5 separate regions of the Homo sapiens genome follow, and all the other regions are linked to region 2. Evidence: promoter capture Hi-C in 16 types of primary human blood cells and fetal thymus (Javierre and others, 2016). All regions are on one chromosome and are shown on one strand. The core of a region is centred on a gene start or on the middle of the fragment in contact, and the rest is flanking DNA. Distances in the headings are between cores, read along the strand shown.

Region 1 (2,700 bases), core at 180-2,679, 370 kb before region 2:
TCGCTTGAACCCAGGAGGCGGAGGTTGCAGTGAGCTGAGATCGCACAACTGCACTCCAGCGTGGGCAACAAGAGCAAGACTTCATTTAAAAAAAAAAAAAAAAGCTTGTTTTGAGAAGAATCAACCTCCTTTTCATCATCAGCAATACAATAAAAGAAACAATTACCAAGACTCCACTATAATAATGTGGGCTTGGTTCCAAGGTCAAGAATCTTTTGAAACACCCCTGCTTGCTACAAGCAAATTTACTGAAAGAACAAAAAAGATAATAAGTGCTTCAACCCACCCAAATTACAGCGCCCAAACCCACACAAATTCAAATAGACTGGAATAAGTATCATTGAATAATTTAAGTTTTTATATCTAGCTTACTTTGTCAAATGTATTTTAATTATTTAAATTAATTCTATTTATTTAAGTAGAAATGTACTTTTTGTGTTATGATAATAGTCTGAATCCCTTTTTAATCCCTTTTTAATCAGTGCATATTGTAAATGGGTGCTACTTTATAGGATTTGGAGCATAATTTTAATATTTTAATATTTATAGAAATTTATGATGACTATAATTTTGCTTTTGTAACACATTATTGGTTATAATTTATATGATGCAAGATACTTGATAGAAAATTCAGACACCAATTATTATTCCTATAAGAAAATATGAGCTGTTTCCTAATTATCTACTTTAGGGTATGATTTGTGATTTGTTAGGCCCTGCAGGAATAAAAAAGTACAATCTATAGATATAACTATTTATGCTTTATTCTGGCTTGTTTTTTTTTTTCAGACAGGGTCTGGCTCTGTCACTCAGGCTGGAATGCAGTGGTACAACCTCCTGAGTAGCTGGGGCTACACGTGTGCACCACCATGCCTGGCTAGTTTTTTGTTTGTTTGTTTGTTTGTTTGTTTGTTTGTTTGTTGAGCCAGGGTCTCACTCTGTCTCCCAGGCTGGAGTGCAGCCTCCCAAAGTGCTGGGGTTACAGGCGTGAGCCACCCTGCACCACCGTGCCCAGCCTAATTTTTGTATTTTTTGTATTTTTTCATCATGTTGCCCATGCTGGCCTCAAACTCCTGACCTCAACTGATCCACCCGCCTCGGCCTCCCAAAATGCTGGGATTACAGATGTGAGCCACTGCACCTGGCCTAAAATCTGGTTTCTTAAAGGGACAAGAAATTTTTTCATTTGATCATATAAAATGTTACAGTGCTTAGCAAAGCCAGTCATGTTTTAAACTTTAAATGGTTTGGATGGGGGCTTCCTACCTCCCAGATTCAGGGCAGCACTGAGAGAGCTCAGAGGGCCTCCTAGAATGTAACTACCGTCATTCACAGCTGCTTAGTGGGTACCTTTGTGTAGGAGCCTTTTCAGAAAGCTGGGTGCTCAGGAAGACTTGCTGGTTAAAGAGCAGGAGTTGAGCCTGTTGCTCTCAGGGTCCCTGACCTGCCCTTCATGACTGCAGTGGGCATCTTCTGCCCTGAGCCCTGCTCAGGTATCCAGAGGGCCCCTCAGGAGAAAGGAAACCCTAAAGATTCCATTCATCTATCAGGGCTTCTGCAGGTCCAGAGAGTGTGGGGAGCCTTGGGGCTCTGCGGGAGAATCTCTTGCAAAGAGTCTCTGCAAGGGCCAGAGCAGCCTCTTTGGCCCAGAGAAGGCCCAGCCTACCGCACAGGAAGAGCGATGCATCTTCACCACGGGTTTGGCCAAAGACATTAGTCACTGGGCAGGAGCTGAGACTGATAAGCCCTGCCAGGTCCCCCGTGGAGACAGCCCTATGGAGCTAACTGGCCATCATCTGAGAGCCTTAAGAATATGCTTCCTCACCAGGTCAGATAATGCTTTCTGCCCCCACAGTCTCCTGGAGTGGGCATCTTAGATGGCCCACAGGCACTCACAAGGCTCTGGGGCCTCTTACAGAGTACAATGGGACCCCTGCCCCTGACCTTCAGGGCACCCACAGTGTGGTCCCAGCAGTCATCCCCTCCCCCACCTGACTCCCCTGCTCCAGCCAGGCCTTTCTCTGGCCCCGCAAAGCCATTTCCTCTTGAGGCCCTGACCTGGTTTGCGTGGGCATTCTCTCTCCTCCGCCCCTCACTGCCTCTGAGCCCTTGGCCTGCAGAGATCTCTGAATCCAGGCCACCTGCCTGCCTCCCTCATTGGGCAGAGGATCTGCTGCCATGAGCCCTCTCTCCCTGTTCTTCCCTACGTCTTCTTTGGCCCAGGAGCCCCTCGAGGGCCTGCCTGTGCCTTAGCCACCCACAGCCTTGGATGGAGGATGGCTTTTTTTTCATCTTTTCAGACAGAGTCTCCCTCTGTTCCCCAGGCTGGAGTGCATTGGGGCTATCTTGGCTCACTGCAGCCTCCGCCTCCTGGATTCAAGCAATTCTCTCACCTCGGCCTCCAGAGTAGCTGGGATTACAGGCGCCCACCACTACGCTCAGATAATTTTTTTCTATTTTTAGTAGAGACAGGGTTTCACCATGTTGCCAAGGCTGATCTCGAACTCCTGGCCTCCAGTGATGCACCTGCCTCGGCCTCCCAAAGTGCTGGGATTACAGGCATGAGCACCTGGCCCGAGGACAGCCTTAATATATGTGTGAGGACCGTAGTCATGAACGGCATTGGGGAAGAACTGAGTGGCTTGCATACCACTCTCGGTCTATTAAGTCAGGCTTCTAGCTCATCCCTCCTTCCCCTTC
Region 2 (2,700 bases), core at 160-2,659:
CCAACCCCGCAGCCTGGGCTTCGAAGGCGACCCGCCCACCATCCTGCCCTTCCCAGAACCTGAGACCGTCTGGGGGGCGGAAGCCAAATGAACCCCTATTGGGCACCTCTGTGATGCCAGGAGCGAACTGGTGAGCCCAGCGCCCTGGGAAGAGGGCCGAGGGCGGGGCGGTGGTGCCGGGACCTCTGAGGTCCTGGGGATTTGGGGACCCTTGGGGTCCACATGCACCTGGCTGACCTGGCTGAAAGCCGCTGTCTCGGAGCCCCCCACAGCATTTTGTTCCCCTCCCGCTGGCCCGGGGGCCCCACCTTCCCACGGGTTCCCACGCTGCTGTGACTGCCCTGCCTCTACGACAAAAGCCAACGGGTCTTCAGTACTTTTATTAAAAAATAGTCACGCAGACAGTGCCCTGGTGGCTCTGCCCCGCATCCCAACTCTGGGGTGGGGGAAAGGGGTCAACGTTTTCGCAGCCCCAAACCGGGCCATCACTTGCCCACCGAGTCGAATATGATGCGGTTCTGCTCGGCGCGCTCCCGCTGGCTCTGCGTCCGCGCCAGCTCCAGCAGGGTCCGCAGCAGGTGAAAGGTGAGGTCAATGGACAGAGAAGGGTTGTCCCGCCGCGGCCGCTCGCCTGCCGTCCCGAGTCCCAATCGGCCGGGCCCCGCGCGGCGCGGGAAGCGCTCCGCCAGCAGCAAGAGGAGCGCGCGGGCCCCGCCACCCTGGTTCCGTGCCCCGGGGCTCCAGCGCAGACTCGGGTCCTGGACCCCGGCCGCCTCGGGGCTCCTCTGGCTGCTCCCAGGGCACAGCTGTACCAGGAGCAGCAGCGCGGCCAGCAGCGCTGCGCGTCCCGCCTGCCTCATGGTGCCGCCGGCCCTGGACACACAGGGGCAGCGCAGGGTGAGGTGCGCCTGGGACAGCTGCAGGCCGCCGCTCCCCTCCCCGCGCTCGCCCGGCGACCCCTCCGGCCGCCGCCCAATGCCCGCAGCCTGCCCTCCAGCCCCAGCCACTGCGCCAGTGCTGTTCCATCCCTTCCACCCAGCCTCCCTCCCCGGAGGAGCGTGGTGGCTGAGCTGAGCGGAGTCCTGGTGCAGGGGGAGGCTGGGCGGACGCTCTGAGCCACTCACAGGTTGTCGGCGAGCGTCTGTACGGTCCAAGATTGAGCTCCAGTCTCTGTCCCTCGGGGCAGGCTGAAGACGCCTTGGGGAACACAGGGTCTGTCCCGGGGCTGTCGCCAGCCTTATATAGTGCCAGGACAGCTCCGACTGACGTCAGCGAAGAACATGCACTGATTGTAGAAGCAATGACAGCCACAGCTTCGAGTCTGACGGCTGGCGGGCCCCCGGAGGGGCGCACCTCCCTACACCAGCCTTCGTGCCCCTGGGGCTAGCGCTGGAAGCAGCACTGGACGCAGGAAAGCGAGAAGCCGGCTGGGGCGTAAAGACTGCTCTGGGACCCACGGGAGTCCCTCGCCCCGCTTAGAACAGCCAGCAATGACTAGGGCCGTCCCCAGACCAGACTAGTCCGGGTCGCGTGTTCTGACACACGAAAGGGAGGCGGGACCGTGAGGCTGTCCATGGTGCTGACCCCGTCCTCTGCCTCTAGAAGTGGCCAGAAATGTGAGAACGCTGTGCCGCTGGAACCCACTGCCTCCCTGCAGCTATCAGTTCTGCAAATGCAGGCATCAGGAGTCCACCGCTGGCACTCAGCCAACACAGTGGGACCCACTGAGAGGCAGTCTGCCACAACCAAAGTCTCCCAGCATTCTTATCTTTTTCCAGCCCCAGGATCCAAATTGTAGGGCTGTCTGACAGGCACCATGTAACAGAGGGTCTCTAGCATCCGAGTGCTTTCAGACCACAAATGGCTGGCCCATCTGCTTTTGAGTTTGCCAAAGTAGTTTAGCAAAGTTCAGTTTCTCTCCTGGGAATCATAGCAGCAGTGTAACTCTGCCCATGAGCAGCAAAGAAATATGGGTTCAAGTTTCTGCTAACTCCTGGTGTGGACAGGTCACCTCCCTCCTACCAACCTCAGGGTCCTCATTTGTAAGACTGGGCTTGGCCAGGCGCGGTGGCTCACGCCTGTAATCCCAACACTTTGGGAGGCCGAGGCAGGCGGATCACGAGGTCAGTAGTTTGAAACCAGCCTGGCCAATATGGCGAAACCCCATCTCTACTAAAAATACAAAAATTAGCCGGGCGTGGCGGTATGCGCCTGTGGTCCCAGCTACTCAGGAGGCTGAGGCAGGAGAACTGCTTGAACCCAGGAGGCGGAAGCTGCAGTGAGGCAAGATCGCGCCACTGCACTCCAGCCTGGGAGACAGAGCAAGACCCTGTCTCAAAAAAAAAAAAAAAAAAAAAAAAAAAAATTGGGCTTGGTGGTCTCTTGGCTTCTTTCCAGCTCTAGAAATGACTCCCCAATAGTTTTCTGCTTAAAAACTTACTCATTACCACTGCAGATTCCGGATTACATATTTAATAACATATTTACTGAGGCACCATATAAAGGGTTCCGGGAGTCTCTAAAGAGCTGGAGCTACAAGAAGCCTAGGCAGGGTTAGAGTAACAAATGTGTCTATGAAGAGTGGGGATGAGTGGCATTTGCTGGGATATGGGTGTAAAGTTGATAAGGTCATGAAGGTTCAACAGATATTTATGGAGTGCCTAGTATGTGGTGGGAATAAGACTATTATCAAGGGCTCTA
Region 3 (2,700 bases), core at 43-2,542, 280 kb before region 2:
GATGCCTCAAGTCTGGGGCTCTCCATCGCTTCCCTGACACATCTGGAACTTGGGATTGACTCTTATGGTGGGAGGCAGAGCCTGTTCTTTCTCATTGCCTGGAAGGGGAAACCCGGCCCTGGCTGTCCCAGACCCCCAGACTTTTCTCAGCCTCCCATGAGAAGAACTCAGAGGCCAGGAGCGGTGGCTCACTCCTGTAATCCCAGCACTTTGGGAGGCTGAAGAGGGTGGATCACTGAGCCCAGGAGTTTGAGATCAGCCTGGGCAACACAGCAAAACCCAGTCTCTACAAAAAATACCAAAGATTAGCCGGGGGTGGTGGTGGGTCAGGTGATCCGTGGTGGGGGATCACCTGAGCCCTAGAAGTTGAGGCTGCAGTGAGTCGTGATCGCGCCACTGAACTCCAGCCTGGGCGACAAAGCAAGATCCTGTCTCAAAAAAAAAAAAAAAAATTATTCTCCATTCTCCACCTCCTACCCCAGCTCCCCAACACTCTGCCCTTTCCTCAAGCCCCCATCCTCTTCCTTGTTCTTTGGCAATAGATTTGTATAGCCCATTAAACCCGAGGTTTAATCACTAGCAACAGTAAAGCCAGCACTTTCCTAGAAGGAAGGAAGCATTTAATCTTCAATCTCTCCCTAGATATGAGGAGCACTACTTCCCTTCCATCCTTCCAGCTCTACGAGAAAGGAAAGAAAAACAGTGGCCGGGCGCCGTGGCTCACGCCTGTAATCCCAGCACTTTGGGAGGCTGAGGGGTGGGGGTGGGGTGGGTCACTTTAGGTCAGGAGTTCGAGACCAGCCTAGCCAACATGGCGAAACCCCGTCTCTACTAAAAATACAAAAATTAGCTGGGCTTGGCAGCGGGAGCCTGTAGTCCCTGCTACTCGGGACGCTGAGGCACGAGAGTCGCTTGAACCTGGGTGGCGGAAGTTACAGTGAGCTGAGATCGCGCTACTGCACTCCAGTCTGGGCGACAGAGCGCGGCCCTGGCAATCAATCAATCAATTGATCAATAAAGGAAAGAAAAACAGAAACAGTTCTACCAAGTCTCTCAATGCCGTGGCCTTCACATCGACGCTCAATGAACGTTCTCAGAAGGGAATCTCCTCTCCTCCCGGCCTCTTCGCCTGGGCGGGGGCCGCAGGCTGCCGCGGAAGCCTCTTCCCGATGCTCTTCGCTCAGGAGAGCCCGGCCCAGGAGAGGGACTACAAGTCCCAGGCTGCCTTGCGGCGGGCGCCGGGCGCCGGGCGCGCGGTCCTGCGAGGAGACGTGGCAGAGTGCGGCGCGCTCGCGCCGGACCGGAAAGCCGGGGAAGTGGCCGAGGAGGGAGGGCTGCGAGCCATGGCGACCAAGACGGCGGGCGTGGGGCGGTGGGAGGTAGTGAAGAAGGGTCGGCGGCCTGGGGTCGGCGCCGGCGCCGGCGGCCGAGGAGGCGGCAGGAACCGCAGGGCGCTCGGGGAAGCAAACGGAGTGTGGAAATACGACCTGACCCGTGAGTACCCGCCCTGCCCCGCCGCCTACCCCAGGCCTGTCCGGCAGGGTCGCAGCGAGCGGCTCCCAGAACCTGGGCGCGAGCTCGCAGGCACATCCCCGAGCGCCACGCTTGCGTTGTCTCTTTGGAGCCTCACGGGAGGCAGACAGCTCCAGGGAAGGTTGCGGTCCTCACCTCCCAGATGAGTAAACTGAGGCCCAGTGAAGTTGGATACCTTGGCCAGGGTCATGTGTCAGAGGGGCTAGGATTCCGGTCCTCAGACTCTCAGTTCACTGCACACACTCTCCCAGCTGCCCAGGGCCCTAGCTGGTCTCTCTGGGCAGGTGTCTGAGCTTTGAAGAGGTACTGTGGATCATTATACACGGTGCCCCCTCTTTAAGTAACCAGCAGGTCATGGAGGAAGGGACAGGAGGCCCAGCAGTGGGAGAAATGACCGCCACACACTCAACACTCACCAGGAATTATAAGTGACACCTGGTTCTTCCACTGAGGAGTGGAGAAAGATTGCCACTTGTTGATTATAGAGTTGTCATGTCGGAACCAAGAGGCGTTAGGGTAGGACCAAGATGGAAAAAGCTTGTCTTCCCAGACTAGTAGCCACTCACTGAATAAGGCAAACCTCTATATCCAACCTCTCTGCTTGTTCCTACATACTCTGATTTGTCTAATGAAGAACTGCCCCATCTTTATGAAAGAGCCCATAGACTCAAGAGCTGTAATGAAAGAAGCTACCAGGAGAACAGCCTGCCCTGCTCCTTAAGCAGTCCAAGAGGAAGGGGCTTTGAGACAGGCTCTTCCCTGGAGATGAATTAGGTGGCAGTGTGGGGAAAGGGACCACTGATAGGTGAGGCCTTGGGGACTCAAGGGTGGCCTGCCTTTCTCTACCTATCTTCACCCCAGCTGCAATCCAGACCACAAGCACCCTTTATGAGCGGGGCTTTGAGAATATCATGAAGCGGCAGAATAAGGAGCAGGTCCCACCCCCTGCTGTGGAACCTAAGAAACCAGGGAACAAGAAGCAGCCAAAGAAGGTGGCAACTCCTCCCAACCAAAACCAGAAGCAGGGCCGCTTCCGCAGCCTGGAGGAAGCACTGAAAGCTGTGAGTGTGCCTAGACATGAGACGCAGAAAGAATGGGGGCTTGAGATTTAGAGAAGATGAGAGGAGGGGGAGGTGGATGGGCAGCTGAGATCCTATGGGATTTGAA
Region 4 (2,700 bases), core at 116-2,615, 300 kb before region 2:
TCATTAATTTCTCGAGGGCCCAGAGTGGGTTCATTTCTTCCTATAGGTCCTGTGCTGGCACAGGGGCTGGCACACAGCATTGGGTGCTGAAGCACACACTCCACAAATGGTGATGAGTGACTGATTGAATCTGAGGCTCTGCAATGTCCTTAGAAAGCAATTTTGTCTATTCTTCCTGCCTTAATACAGTAATTTTCCACAAAACCAAACATTAAAAAGGGCTCTGATTAACCACAGTTAAACAAAGTTAATCAATATGTACAACATTATTTTCCAAACATTCAACTTAGTTAAGACTTTATTATATAAACACATTTCTTATCTTGCTTTTCATTTGTGATACAGTGTTGTGAGTAGCTGGAGAAAGATCGTGAGTCGCACTCATGGGTCTTCTTGGACAGATAAAATCTAGAACTTGAGGGTAGGATATGGAGTCTGAAGGGGGATGGGTGAGATGTTGAGATAAGGAGCACAAGCCTACTTTTAATCTGTATTTCTTTTTTTTTTTTTTTTTTTGAGATGGAGTTTCACTCTTTGTTGCCCAGGCTGGGGTGCAGTGGTGTGATATTGGCTCACTGCAACCTCCACCTCCCGGGTTCAAGCCATTATCCTATCTCAGCCTCCCAAGAAGCTGAGATTACAGGTGCGTGTCACCATACCCAGCTAATTTTTGTATTTTTAGTAGGGGTGGGGTTTTGCCATGTTGGCCAGGCTGGTCTCGAACTCCTGACCTCAGGTGATCCACCTGTCTCGGCCTCCCAAAGTGCTGGGATTACAGGCATGAGCCACAGCACCCGGGCCCAATCTATATTTCATTTCAAATTTTAACTGAAAGAACCAAAATGCTCTCCACCCTGCAGGCAGTCACTCACTATCTACCTGAAGTGCTGCAGCAGACACACATGGCTGTGATGACAAATGCCTGATGTCCCTCTCCAGCTTCCTCCTGGGCAAGTGATCAAGGACTCCACAATCATCTGCAGGTCTAGCTGCTGTCCCCATACTCCAACAAAATGACTCAGAGTTTCATCATTTCTTATTGCACAATTTAATGACCATATCGCCACCTCTGGTCTGGTAGCTTCATTAAACAGGGCAGATGACCTCCTCTTTGAAAGTGGGCCCTCCCTTGGCTCCTAAGACATCACCTTCTCTCCACCTCCTCTATTTTCATCGCGTCCCTAACATTCCTCCAGGACTGAGTCATTGGTCTTATGCTCTTTTTTTAAAATAAAAGTAATAATAAATATGTTTCCCATGTCCAGAATTTCCCATTTTCTCCTCGCTGCTTTCTGGCATCCTGTCATCTTTAAAGGCCCAATTAGGTGCCACCTTCCTCCAGAAACCCTCTAACTGCTGATCCCCCTCTCATCTTTTTCATGTGCCTGGAACACTTAAAAGCCAAAGGTGCTTTCACTATTTAGCACTTCATATATTCTGCTTTGTGGCGTCCCTTGTTATTTTATAAATTACTCTTACCTCTTCAACCAAAGAAAAGCTCCTTAATAAAGACAAGACCCATGCCTTGAAATGATCCCATGTCCTCATGATGCCTCACTGGGTGTTGAGCATTTTGTCAGTGGTCAGTAAGCACTTGCTGGTCGAGATTAAGGCAATGCTAGGCCGGACCTGGTGGCTCATGCCTGTAATCCTAGCACTTTGGGAGGCTGAGGCAGGTGGATCACTTGAGGTCAGGAGTTCAAGACCAGCCTGGCCAATACGGTGAAACCTCATCTCTACTAAAAATACAAAAATTAGCTGGGTGTGGTGGCACACACCTGTAATCCCAGCTATTCGGGAGGCTGAGGCAGGAGGATTGCTTGAACCAGGGAGGTATAGGTTGCAGTGAGCTGAGATCATGCCATTGTACTCCAGCCTGGGCAACAAAGCGAGACTCCATCTCAAAAAAAAAAAAAAAAAAAGAAAGAGAGAGGTTAAGGCAATGCTGCAATGTCTTGAAAAAATAAGTATAAAGAAGAAAACTGGGCCAGGCATGGTGGCTCATGCCTGTAATCCCAACACTTTGGGAGGCCGAGGCAGGCAGATCACAAGGTAAAAAGTTTGAGACCAGCCTGGCCAATATGGTGGCCCCATCTCTACTAAGAATACAAAAATTAGCCAAGCATGGTGATGGACGCCTGTAATCCCAGCTACTCGGGAGGCTGAGGCAGGAGAATTGCTTGAACCTGGGAGGTGGAGGTTGCAGTGAGCCGAGATCATGCCACTGCACTCCAGCCTGGGTGACAGAGCAAGACTCCATCTCAAAAAAAAAAAAAAGAAGAAGAAGAAGAAATCCTCTGAAATTCCCTTTCCCTCCTCCTAATTCTCAAGGGGTGAAATCTGGGCAAGTCATCCTGCTCTAGAGCTGTGAAAAATCAAATCGTCCTTCCTGCACCAGTGTGGTGGTGTGGAAAGAGCATGGGATTTGTGTTCATTTGGCCAGGTTCAGCTCTGATCTTGCCAGTGGTTGATCTTGAACTTGGAAAAGTCACTGGAATCCTCATCCTTCATTTCCTCAAAAGCAAAATTGAGGTAACAACTCAAAGGCTTTCTGGAGCTGGATGCTGTAATCCACAAGAGTGGCATTTCTGGTGGGAATTTCGGGCACTATGGTAGGGCAGGAGAGAAGCTATCTGCAGGCCTTCTGGAAGCTCTCCAGTGCATGTCCCCACTGGGGTGGGGGCTGACTGTCTCCACGTG
Region 5 (2,700 bases), core at 94-2,593, 330 kb before region 2:
ACTCTTAGATGTGCTGTTGCGTGAGTCTGGTGGTTTCCAACTCTCTGAGCAGATCCCTACTGAGCCATGCCTCTCTGGCCTCTGTGAGTGAAGGTTCTTCCTCCAGACAGATAGAGTCCCTTGCTAGGAATGCAGTTTTGTGAGTGGAGCTTGGGTTCTACTCATTTTGTGAGGGTTCCAGCCCTCATCTCCTCCACAAGGTGCTTTGTGCAGTGTACAAAGTGTACAACTGTTTATAACAGCCCTGTTTCTCTCTTGCCTATTATGAAACTTGGCCTAAAGTCCTTTCCTCCTCTGACCCCTCTCTTTCTCATGTCCTCCTAGATCATTCACTTTGACTCTGACCCTGTCTAACACCCTGGGTTGTGGTCTTTATTCCACCTGCTGGATTCACATTACTTTCATGCTGCACAACTGAAGCCATTTACACAGCTCACCATGCAAAGCAGCCACAGGGGCTGATAGCAGGGGACTTAACTAGGTGGGAATATGTGGAAAGTCAGGTGCAGGAGTCAACCTGTGGAAACGGAAAAGCTAGGGCTGCTTTCTTTCCAGGGCCTTACACTGACATTACCTTGCCTGGACATTTTGTAGTCCCGTTTCATGAAAGCCAGGACCTAAGCAGAAGTATGGCTCCCTGCCAGTCCCTACCAGGAAGGAACAAACAGCTTGCAGTACAGGCCTCAAGCCAGGTGGGGCAGGAGCAAAAGTGCATTGTGTTGCCTGTGGAATTAAATGGACTCTCTATAAACACAGCCTCCTGCCACTGTTCTTTTCTCTTTCCACCTAGTCAGCCTACCTGAGAATAATTAGCCCTTGGCCTATAATTAGGTAGAATGATTATTTTACTACTGTTTATCCATTTCACTAGATAACTAGCTTCATGAGGCAGGGACCATGTGAGACCTAGCAGTATCTGGGGCTCAACAAATAATTGCAGAATGAATGGATTTCTAAGGCATATTTGTTGCTGTCCATCCTTAATGCTATGAAATGGTACCTAGGAGTGAGTATATAGTGACCATAGTAACTAACGAAAAAGCCCTCACATTTGTCCCTAATGGACAAGAGTGCCAGCAAAAGCAATGTTTTGGACTTCTCAAAGTCAAAACTCAGAGACTCTCAAGATTTGGAGTAGCATTGAAAATTAGGAAGGCCCAACCCAGCTCCTGTCAGAGGGAAATGGAAAGACATGAGAGGAAGATCCCACTACCGCTACCACTATCCTGTTCAATAAAGCCTCACTTGGGCAGAGTTAAGCTTCCAGTAAGACAGAGACAGAGATAGACATTCAGAGACGGAACCCACCACATAATCTGTGCTTGCATAAATTAAAAATCAAATGTGTAGTGGAGCCTTTCCGAAGGGTGCATTTCCCACTCTCCTAGGTATGGATGACTAGATCTTCCAGGAGCCCACTGGGTTCCAAGCTTAGGCTCCAGAACTCCTTTTCTCCATGCAGCACCCCCAACCCTGCCTAGCAACTCTCCCCAAGTACTGCTCTGCTTCCCCTGTGGCTTCTCAGACATGCAAGCCTCTGATTGAACTTCTCCTGGCCTGGAAGGCTTGATTTTTCAGGACCCAGCAAGGCACTGCTCTGGCCTCGTGGCTGTCCCAGGATGTGTTAGGAGGTCATAACACAAGAGGACTCATGCCTCTGAGGCCCTCTCGAAGGGTATTGAGAACTCAGTGATAATGCAGGCCCTGTCAAGGGTACTTAAGAAGATCCCATTTGTACCTTTATCTTTAAAATTCATCATTTGAACTCAGATGGTTCTCCCAGTATCTAGCTGTTCTGTGGAAATTATGTTGCTTGCCACCTAGAGCAGATGACCTCTTTGGGAGGCATTAGGAAATAACTAGTTGTTTTAAAGCTCCCAGAGCTGTTAGCTAAAAGATCTTATATATTCCTTTCAGCTTGGTTTTCTGGAATTGACAGCCTTTTCTAATTCCAAAGAGGCTGCCTGTCAGCTTCCTTAAGAAGCTTCCCAAGATACCCATTGAAGGCCCAAGGCAAGCAAAGAGAAACAACTGAGAAGCCTTTGACTCCAGGTGTCCCTGGGTAGCAGCTGCCCCTCACCCCGTCCCTTCCCCTTGTTGGGGATGTGAGGTTTGGAAAGAACTTCCTCAGATGACTGCCAAGTCCACAGTTATTCCTCTGAAGAACACTCGAGAATTTTTGCATCACTTGTCTCACCCTCACCCTAATAATGTTTGTGTCCATGCATTAGCTTTCCCATGAATTTAAATATATTTATATATTATTCTCAAAATCATTACGACCTTGCCCATATTTTCAGAGAAACTTGTAAGAGTGTTATGTGTTTAATGCCTTTAGTGTATAGTCATAATCAAAAACCCCTTGCTGGATGACAAATATAATTCAAAATTGCTTTTAGAATTAAATATTTATGAATTAAAACATTGCAGAAATGCACAATGCAAAAAGTAGAAGTCCTCCATAACTCTGTCCCCCAAAGAGAATCACTGCCACTATTTTGTTGAATATTCCAACTTTTTTCTACACACATACTAACATATTATTTTTTTTAAACATGGAATCTAACTATTTTTCATTTGTAGAAAAATTGGAAAAGATAGTAAAGAGTAAGTGAGAAAATTAGAACTACTTTTAATTCTACCACTCAGACAGCAGTGGCACCAGGGGGTGGTTTGGGTGGGCTTTAGCACTGCCCTCTT

The links. The method cuts DNA at HindIII sites, captures the fragments that hold promoters and counts their contacts. A CHiCAGO score of 5 or more calls a contact.
Region 1: a fragment that was not itself captured here is called in contact with the fragment with the promoter of UCN in region 2 in 2 of 17 cell types (neutrophils and total B cells); the score reaches 6.3 in neutrophils.
Region 3: the fragment with the promoter of TMEM214 here is called in contact with the fragment with the promoter of UCN in region 2 in 12 of 17 cell types (erythroblasts, total B cells, naive CD8 T cells and 9 more); the score reaches 8.5 in erythroblasts.
Region 4: a fragment that was not itself captured here is called in contact with the fragment with the promoter of UCN in region 2 in 1 of 17 cell types (total B cells); the score reaches 5.2 in total B cells.
Region 5: a contact is called between a fragment that was not itself captured here and the fragment with the promoter of UCN in region 2, in 7 of 17 cell types (total B cells, naive B cells, activated CD4 T cells and 4 more). The highest score is 9.2, in total B cells.

The regions. Positions count from the first base shown.
Region 1 is chr2:26,936,859-26,939,558 of GRCh38, forward strand. The region is part of intron 8 of DPYSL5 (dihydropyrimidinase like 5); the gene reads left to right. Among named protein-coding and RNA genes, the nearest start is that of MAPRE3, 32 kb to the right of the region's middle. The HindIII fragment of the contact is 2,654 bases long and covers 103-2,700 here.
Region 2 is chr2:27,307,036-27,309,735 of GRCh38, forward strand. UCN (urocortin) reads right to left here and starts at 1,410. Exons shown (of 2, transcript NM_003353.4): 1 at 1,125-1,410; 2 at 365-873. The coding sequence starts at 860. The coding sequence ends at 486. It overlaps TRIM54 (tripartite motif containing 54), which reads left to right. Exons shown (of 9, transcript NM_187841.3): 9 at 1-400. It overlaps MPV17 (mitochondrial inner membrane protein MPV17), which reads right to left. Exons shown (of 8, transcript NM_002437.5): 8 at 2,457-2,700. The HindIII fragment of the contact is 26,108 bases long and covers 1-2,700 here.
Region 3 is chr2:27,031,673-27,034,372 of GRCh38, forward strand. TMEM214 (transmembrane protein 214) reads left to right here and starts at 1,293. Exons shown (of 17, transcript NM_017727.5): 1 at 1,293-1,494; 2 at 2,395-2,594. The coding sequence starts at 1,344. RefSeq lists an enhancer at 916-1,205. The HindIII fragment of the contact is 3,121 bases long and covers 1-2,068 here.
Region 4 is chr2:27,009,943-27,012,642 of GRCh38, forward strand. The region is part of intron 1 of MAPRE3 (microtubule associated protein RP/EB family member 3); the gene reads left to right. The region is part of intron 1 of MAPRE3-AS1 (MAPRE3 antisense RNA 1); the gene reads right to left. Among named protein-coding and RNA genes, the nearest start is that of MAPRE3-AS1, 3.3 kb to the right of the region's middle. The HindIII fragment of the contact is 2,957 bases long and covers 1-2,700 here.
Region 5 is chr2:26,981,863-26,984,562 of GRCh38, forward strand. All of the region lies in intron 1 of MAPRE3 (microtubule associated protein RP/EB family member 3), which reads left to right. Among named protein-coding and RNA genes, the nearest start is that of MAPRE3, 13 kb to the left of the region's middle. RefSeq lists an enhancer at 725-784. The HindIII fragment of the contact is 170 bases long and covers 1,259-1,428 here.